3 separate regions of the Homo sapiens genome follow, and all the other regions are linked to region 2. Evidence: promoter capture Hi-C in 16 types of primary human blood cells and fetal thymus (Javierre and others, 2016). All regions are on one chromosome and are shown on one strand. Each heading gives the region's core, a stretch centred on a gene start or on the middle of the fragment in contact. The rest is flanking DNA. Distances are from core to core; before and after follow the strand shown.

What was found. The method cuts DNA at HindIII sites, captures the fragments that hold promoters and counts their contacts. A CHiCAGO score of 5 or more calls a contact.
Region 1: a fragment that was not itself captured here is called in contact with the fragment with the promoter of CASD1 in region 2 in 4 of 17 cell types (naive CD8 T cells, naive CD4 T cells, activated CD4 T cells and 1 more); the score reaches 7.6 in naive CD8 T cells.
Region 3: a fragment that was not itself captured here is called in contact with the fragment with the promoter of CASD1 in region 2 in 1 of 17 cell types (M1 macrophages); the score reaches 6.3 in M1 macrophages.

What each region holds. Positions count from the first base shown.
Region 1 is chr7:93,239,343-93,242,068 of GRCh38, reverse strand. It overlaps VPS50 (VPS50 subunit of EARP/GARPII complex), which reads right to left. Exons shown (of 28, transcript NM_017667.4): 2 at 2,135-2,203. Among named protein-coding and RNA genes, the nearest start is that of VPS50, 8.3 kb to the right of the region's middle. The HindIII fragment of the contact is 1,489 bases long and covers 565-2,053 here.
Region 2 is chr7:94,508,456-94,511,155 of GRCh38, reverse strand. It overlaps CASD1 (CAS1 domain sialic acid O acetyltransferase 1), which reads right to left and starts at 1,347. Exons shown (of 18, transcript NM_022900.5): 1 at 939-1,347. The coding sequence starts at 1,071. RefSeq lists silencers at 684-1,043, 1,144-1,293, 1,334-1,553 and enhancers at 87-1,073, 1,074-2,062. The HindIII fragment of the contact is 8,005 bases long and covers 1-2,700 here.
Region 3 is chr7:95,515,349-95,518,048 of GRCh38, reverse strand. All of the region lies in intron 2 of ASB4 (ankyrin repeat and SOCS box containing 4), which reads right to left. Among named protein-coding and RNA genes, the nearest start is that of ASB4, 31 kb to the right of the region's middle. The HindIII fragment of the contact is 460 bases long and covers 1,032-1,491 here.

The DNA of each region.
Region 1 (2,726 bases), core at 60-2,559, 1.3 Mb after region 2:
GTTTACCATGTTTTCTGTTTAGAGCATACATTAATTTTATATTTAAAGCAAAAGTTATTTCAAAATAATCATTTGAATTAACATTTTCCATTTTGTTAAAATGCTTTTAATCTTAATTTTAAAAGATCTTAAAGATCTTCTTCAATTACATCAAATTTCAGGTCATCAAGAACTAGCAACAACATTAATTTCAAAGCAATTATACAAAAATAAATCATTAAAATATATGTGTTATGATCTAAGTATAAAGTCTTATCTAAATTGTGAAAAAATACTGAACATTAAAGCTACATCAAGCTATGCTGTGTAGGGAATTTCTGAATATGAGTCTTCTTAACTCCTGATCTCAGTACTGACTTCAAACCTCATCCAAAGACTCAGTTTACTGACTGGAGCTTTGCCACTCTCTGGACCCAGCAACTCTCATGTTCTCAGAACCACCCAGAAAGAAGGCAGAAGCTCTGCTCACCCTCCATCATTTGTTATGCTATAGGAGAACACAGAAAAAACAAACAGGCAGATGAAGCTTGTAGGGATTTCTTAGTGTAAGGTTAAATGTAAGCTTATAGCATCAATACATTTTTTACTATTAACTGTTTTATTATTTAACTAACTTAGCTTCTTAGTATGTGCTAAAGAGACCAGTGCTTTAGGCTTACTCTTCACCTGAACCATTTATATTTGCTGACCTTGTGATCCCAGACTGGCCACTCCACCCAAGGCCAGTTATCCTAAAAGTACAGACAGCACTGGTCACTGATGGAGCTAGGGGTGTACATTTAATAAGAAGACTTTGTAATGAGATCACCATATTCACTACCAACCAGTACTGGGAAAACATCATGGCTCATGGTGGAAACACAACAGAAAGTTCTTGTTAAGACTGTAATGTATTTTTTTAAAGAGGCTCACTCATCAATTTGACATTGATTCTGCAATATGTAATACAATCTAATTCAAGGTATGTTCATAATGCATGATAATCTTTTTCTTAACTCAAAGAAATAAAGAGAATTATTGTCAATTAATTAGGATTTATGGCTATCTCTTGTTTCCCAACCTTTTCATAGTCATTAATTTTTAATAACATTACATAAAACTATACGGAATGCTTTTCTTAAGTTTTTGTCTGAACCATTTCATGCAAAAGGGTTGGTTATAATTTTATTGCATTTGGAGAATATGTTTCAGCCTAACCCAAAATAAAAACAATGCAGTAAATACAAAATTCACTTTAGCAGGTAAGGCACCTGAAAGAGATGAGAAATCATCCTCCTAAGGAGCTGACACCGAGGTGTAAGGAGAGGCCTTAAACTGCTGATCAAGAGAAGCACACCCTGTGTATTCAAATGCCTGATGCAGAAAACAAACAGTATTTTCACGTATCACTCTCAAATTAAAAAATACAAAAACAGACATTCAGAAGTGCCAGCTTAATCTGTGATGGAGCAGCTATTCACATGGGCAGCTCCAAGCAGCAACACTCCAGAAAAACAGCAGGGATTTAACAATACTTAATAATTCCAAGGGGAATCTAGCTAGCTTTCAAATAACCTATATAAAATTTGTAAACTGAGAAATTCACGTGAATATCAGAGGATTAAAATCTAAAATACCTACAATCTAGGAGATAAGTTATACAATTCAGTATAAATACTATGGTTTAGATGCTTTTTCAAAAACCTCTGCTCCACAACAAAAATATAATCATGATTTTTGGCACAGAATGTTAGGAGTATAAAAAGTCAGTAGTCAACTATTTCACTTTATTTCTACAAATTACAGCAGATAAATCAATGAGAGAGAGAGAGAGAGAGAGTGTGTGTGTGTGTGTGTGTGTGTGTGTGTGTGCATACACATATATACAACTGCTTTCAGGCTAAGAATTTAATATAATAAATTCCAAATTTATCAAGTTTGCATTTTTTGCTTTGCTATAATGCATCATACATACTGCATCCCAACGTGTAATGAAACAAGCCCTACACCTACTATACAATAAAAATTTACCTAGCTTATCTTAACAACCATCTGCCTGTGGGAAAGAAAAGCTTCTGTGAATCAATTACTATCCAGAGGCAATCATATTTTCTTAAGGAAGTAAAAAGTCACGCTCACACGTGTAGCTCAATACCTTTCCAGGGACCCGGAGACTCTCTATGGCACCAAGATCACTGAGGCTTTCTTGAGGGCTTTTCAGACCCTTAAAAAAATAATAAGATGAGGAAAATTTTAATCATGCTGAAGAATTATAAAAGGATAGAATACACCTACTGAAACAGAAATGACCACTTTAAAAATAGAAATTTTCCTGCTTCAAAATATGGAAGATATATTCTAAAAGCAATCATCATTTAATACATATAGTACTATTATTAAATCAGAGAAGGGTGTACTTTTGGTATTTTAAAATAAAAGAGTATTATACGGCAACTTCACAACTAATGGTAGAAGTCCAACCCATCTATGATTTGAAAACAGCCAAAAGTAAAGAAACTTACATAACAAAAAGCATTCTATAAAAGCCACTTGTATATACAATAATAATTACTAAATCCATCAGGAAAAAAGTCCAAGCAATAGTATTATGATTCACAGATACAATATACTAACCAACTAAGCTAACATATAAGTAATCCCTTCATTTTACTTGATTATTTCCCACCAATGTATCCAATTCATGCTGCATAAATTAAGATTGAAGTCTCATATCTCACTGTCTTTTA
Region 2 (2,700 bases), core at 98-2,597:
ATTATTAATTTCCCTCTGCCTGTCAGCCTCTCTCCCAGTGACATTTTTACAAAGGAAAAAAAACAATCAATCAGCAAGGAGAAGTAAATATCCCTTGATTACTGAAAGATAATTCATTCTCAAATCAGGTCATATTTCCTTTTCCCCTTTACACCAATTTCAAAACCCATGGCCAAGGCCTGCTTTCAAAGTGCTTACAACTTGCTTTCAACTGCCCACCTTTACGCCTGTCAACCCACAACTTCCTTCCAAAAATCTGCTCTGGTGCCTTAACTTTGTAAAAAGTGTGCACTCCGAAGCCTTTAAACGTTTCTGCATCACAAAAGCTGGGTGGCACCTCTTCCATTTGGCCACAGGCATCTTTTGCCAGCTGTCGCCCTTTTGGCAAAGGAAAATGGGGGCGGCCCTTGCCGCTGTCCAACAGCCCAGACTGGGTGTTACAGGGCAGAGGCAAAATTAAACAAAGGCTAAGGAGCCGGACCCTTAAGAGGCAGGACCTGCGACCCCACTGCTGGCAGCGGTGCCCCTTGCAGGGCGGCCTTGGGCTTCATGCGCCCCGGGCTGCCCCCAAGGACCGCCTGTCCGACTTCCTGCACGCGAGCCCCTGATCTGGAGCGTCTCCCCGAACCCAGACCGCTCAGGAGCCGGACCTCAGCAGCACTTTTGGCCAGGTCCAGGGTTGGCGCCCCCGACCCCAGCGCGGGCGGCTCGGGGCGCCCAGAACCACCAGCCATTGTCCTTTGGTGGCCCCCACTGGGGTCCACTCAGTTGGCCTCGGGCGCCGGCCGCTGCTGGGGACACCTGGGGGAACCGCCTCCCCCGCGGGCCGGGCCGGCGGAAGGCCGCGTGGGCGTGTGTTGGGCGATGGGGGCGGCCTCCAGCCGCCGCGTCGCCGCCTCCCCCACGGCCTGCCCGGGCAGAGGGGAGGGCCCGCTCACCTCGGTAGCGGCGGGAGGCGAGGTGGCACGCTGCGAGCAGCAGCACGGCCACCAGCGCCAGCACCTTGGCGCTCCTCACGCTGAAGTAGTGGTTGATCTCCCGCTTGCCCAGGTTGTAGGCCAGAGCCGCCATCTTGGTTCCTCCATGACAACAGTGCGCGGCGGAGCGGGAAAGGGGCGCCGCACAGGGGCAGCACTGGGGCTGCCGCCGCTGCAGCCAGGCGAGGAGCGGCCGCCAGCTCCCCAGGCCGCCACCTGCGCCTCCCGCCGGGGAACCTGACCCCGCGGCCGCGGCGCCCCCGACCTCCGCCTGCCCCTCCTCGGCCGCGGCCGACTCGGCGGCCTCCCCCCAGCCCCGCCGCCGCTGCTCCGCCGTGCCGGTTCCCCAGGCGCCCTGGACGCCTGTCTCCTCCCCTTCCTCCTCCTCTTTAGCCTCCTGCCTTAATAGCGGCTGCGCCTGCGAGGGGGGTCCGGATGCCCAGTGCTCCGGGGTCACCGGGTCACGCGCCCCGGCGGGCGGCGGCGGCTGCGGCAGAGCCATGGGGGTGTGGGGAGAGAGTACTAGGGGTACCCGCCTGGCCCGGACGCGAGCCTTAGGGCTGTCTCCTAGTTTACTGGCCGCTACCTGAGCCCAGGTTGGGGCAATAGAACTACAGTTCCGGGAGAAAAGTACACATCGTCCCATTCCTTCCTTCCCCAACACTCCCCTTTCTCAGCCTTCTACTGCCAGAACCCGCCCAGCGGGATGCGAAGGACACCCTAAGGTCGTTTATTGTCTGGCTATCCGTGGCCTGGCTGGTCAGTCTGGCTGCCCCTGGGTGCTGGCCAGATTGGATTGATGGATCCAGTTGATGGTGCTGGCCGATGGATTGCTGGCATCCAACCCAGGAGTGAAACCAGTCTTAACACTTAACTCACCGCTCTGGCCAGTTTCTCTTAAACCGTTTTTTTAATGTCCTCAGTTTGCCCAGTTCTGGTGGGCGAAAGTACACCAAAGTTCCGAATGGAAGGTACAGAAGGAGCCTAACTTAGTGTAGGTGTTGATGAGAAAAGAGTCTGACTCTCACTTGTATTTACGCAAGTTTGGCTAGGTCGATGTGCCAAAAAAATTCGTTTTTTTTGAGAGGGAGTCTCACCCTGTCGCCCAAGCTCTAGTGCAGTGGCGTGATCTTCGCTCACTGCAGCCTCCCCCTCCTGGGTTCAAATGGTTGTCCTGCCTGAGCCTGCCGAGTAGCAGAGATTGCAGGCGCCCGCCACCACACCCGTTTAATTTTTGTATTTTAATAGAGACGGGGGTTTCACCATTTTGGTCAGGCTGGTCTCGAACTCCTGACCTCAAATGATCTGCCCATCTCGGCCTCCCAAAGTGCTGGGATTACAGGCATGAGCCACCAAGCCTAGCCAAAAAAAATTTTTCTTAATGTGCTTATGACAATCATCCCCGCTACTAACGTTGGTTAATGTTTTGTGATTCTCAATAAAGCCAGCACTCCATTTCCTTAATAAAGCATTGTTATCCCTACTCTCCTCTCGCTCCCACCCCACCTTTTTTAAATGGTTTTTCTTGTTGCCTTCCAGATGGGAATGGTTATTTACATTGCTTGCCATTCTACTTGCCTTGCCTTGTTTAGAGTGAGTCATTGTTTAGTTGGGGTGTTGTCAAGTATTCTTTACAACTTTCCCATTTAGCCATTCCTGAACTTGTGCTTATAGGCCCCTCTTAAAATTATAGAATATTAGATATGAAGGGACTGTAGAGATC
Region 3 (2,700 bases), core at 12-2,511, 1.0 Mb before region 2:
GGTCTCTCCTCCAATTTAAGACCAACACCTTCCTCTTTGCAATTGATCATACACCCAGCAGTAGAACATTGCTCCACAAGTAATTTATCTCTATTATTTACCCAACATCTCCATTCCCATGGACTCTTTGCCCTCATTTTCTAAGCATACTTAAGCTTTTGCAACTCTTTTCTCCCTTTTAGCTAACCTCCAATTTCTTTCTATTGCTTTTTGTTTGAACTCCTTGAAAGGGTGGTCTCTGTTTTCCACATCCACTGTCTCACCACCGATACACTCCTCAGTCCATCAAACCTTGCCTCTGTCCCCACACTCCACTGGAACTGCTCAGACGAAGATCACTAGTGGCCTGTAATTGATTATCTACATTTTTCAACCTTCCAGTTACCACACCTCTCTACTATATCTAATGGTATTGATGACTCATTTCTTGAAATTCTTTTTTTTTTTCAGTTTCCTTGGGTGTGCTTTCTTCTCCCTCTCTGAAAACAAAGTCTGTGATGATTTTTCTGTGATTTCCTTTCTTCTCACTCCCTAAATTTTTGCCTCACTTTGGGCATCATCATTTGCTCCTTGCACTTCCTATTATACATAACTTCCTGGAGAAATCAAAACTACTATTTTCTCTTTATCTGTGAACAGACAGGTCCCCAAATTCTATCATCATATATATGATAAAAGACTCGTGTCTAGAATACATAAAGAACTATTAAAACTAGACCTGGCATGGTGGCTAACGTCTGTAGTCCCAGCATTTGGGGAGTCTGAGGCAGGAGGATTGCCTGAGCCCAGGAATTTGAGGTTACAGTGAGCTATGATGGCTCCACTGCACCTCAGCCTGGGCAACAGAGTGAGAACCTGTCTCCAACAATAACAACAAAAAAAATAGAACTATTACAACTCAATAGAAAAAGCCAAATAACCCAATTTAAAAATGGATAAAGTATATAAACAGACATTTCTACAAGAACAAACCATGCAAATGATCATTAACACAGGGATAGGAAACACTTTCTTTCTGGACATGGAAAGCTTGAGAGGATAACTAAACATCCAGTGGAGACAGATTATATATAGTTGGATAGATGAGTCTGGAGTTCAGAGCAGAGGCTCAAGCTAGAGATACCAAGCTGAAAGTGAACACCATTTGATGACATTTGAAGTCACAGAAGCAGATGGGATCACACAGGTTTGAGTTCAGATGGAGAAAAGGGCCTCTTAGACTGAGCCCTAGGACATGCAAATATTTAAACACAGAAAAGAGTAGCAGATCCAGCAAATAAGACTGAACAAAGACCAGTGAAGGAATAGGAAAACAGCTCGGCTTTATAAATGCTTATTAAACCAAACTTTTTGACACTTGGTCTGCTCTCATGACAAGTTTCTTCTTCTTTAACAGCTACTCGTATTTTTTAAGCCATATTGAAAACAGGAAGCAAATATCACAAACTATTTCCCCTGTCTCCTGAAGCAAATCTTTTTCATATCAAAGCTTATCTGCCAACTCCACAGAATATTGCTTCTCATCCTTTGGGAGACACATTTTTTTCATTGAACCCATGTTTATTTATCATTTTGTTTATTTTTAACTTACTCAACCTTAAAGAAAGGATATCTTTCTAGACATGCTATTGGAGAATAACCAAGATGCAGACACTGAGCTCAGTCACCCTGTATTTATTTTATTTTTTATCTTTTTAATTCCAAAAAACCATTGATTAAAATTTTGCAAAGTAACCATAGATAAGACTGAATAACTCAGACTTTGGAATATGTACCATTACTGTATTATTTTGCACTAATCTGTTGGGCTCATGAAATCAGACCATATATTATGGTCAGAAAGGTGTTTTCGTTGAAGGAAATTAATGCTGCTATTATCATTCAACTGAAAAAGAGGTTAACCCTGAGGAAGACTGATTTTTTTAGAAGATACAAGTTTGGATAAAGTGATAAGGACTTCTTCCTCCACTCAGGGACAAAATTCTGTCTGTTCTGGACTCAAAGGCAAGAGGAGGCCTGGACCAGCCCTAGGGGTAGAGGTGAATGGCCCTGGCTCATGGAGGCAGGACTGGAGTGAAACAGGGAGATAACATGGCATGAAGGAGAGTGGTACCAATGGGGCTTTGGGTTATTAGAAGCCAATTGTATGAGAAGGAATTTGTCAAGCAACAGTGAGCCTACTTTTTTGAGTGGCAGCAACAGCAGCAAAAGCAAGGGTGATGGTGCCCATCTCTGGAGCAGCCAGCATCTTTGATAATAAGTAAGGAGTCCTTTAGTCCAGGGGGAATACCAGGGTTTATTCTACAACCAGTGCCTTACAGAAAGAGCAACTGCAGCTGGGCGCAGTGGCTCACGCCTGTAGTCCCAGCACTTTGGGAGGCCAAGGTCGGGGGGATCACAAGGTCAAGAGATTGAGACCATCCTGGTCAACATGGGGAAACCCCGTCTCTATGAAAAACACAAAAATTAGCTGGGCTTGGTGGCACATGCCTATAATCCCAGCTACTCTGGAGGCTGAGGCAAGAGAATCACTTGAACACGGGATGCAGAGGTTGCAGTGAGCAGAGATCACATCACTGCACTCCAACCTAGCGACAGAATGAGACTCTGTCTTAAAAAAAAAAGAGAGAGAGAAAGGAAAAAGAAAAGAAAAGAAAAAAAAGAAAAGAAAAGAAAGAAAGAAAAGAAAGAAAGAAAAAG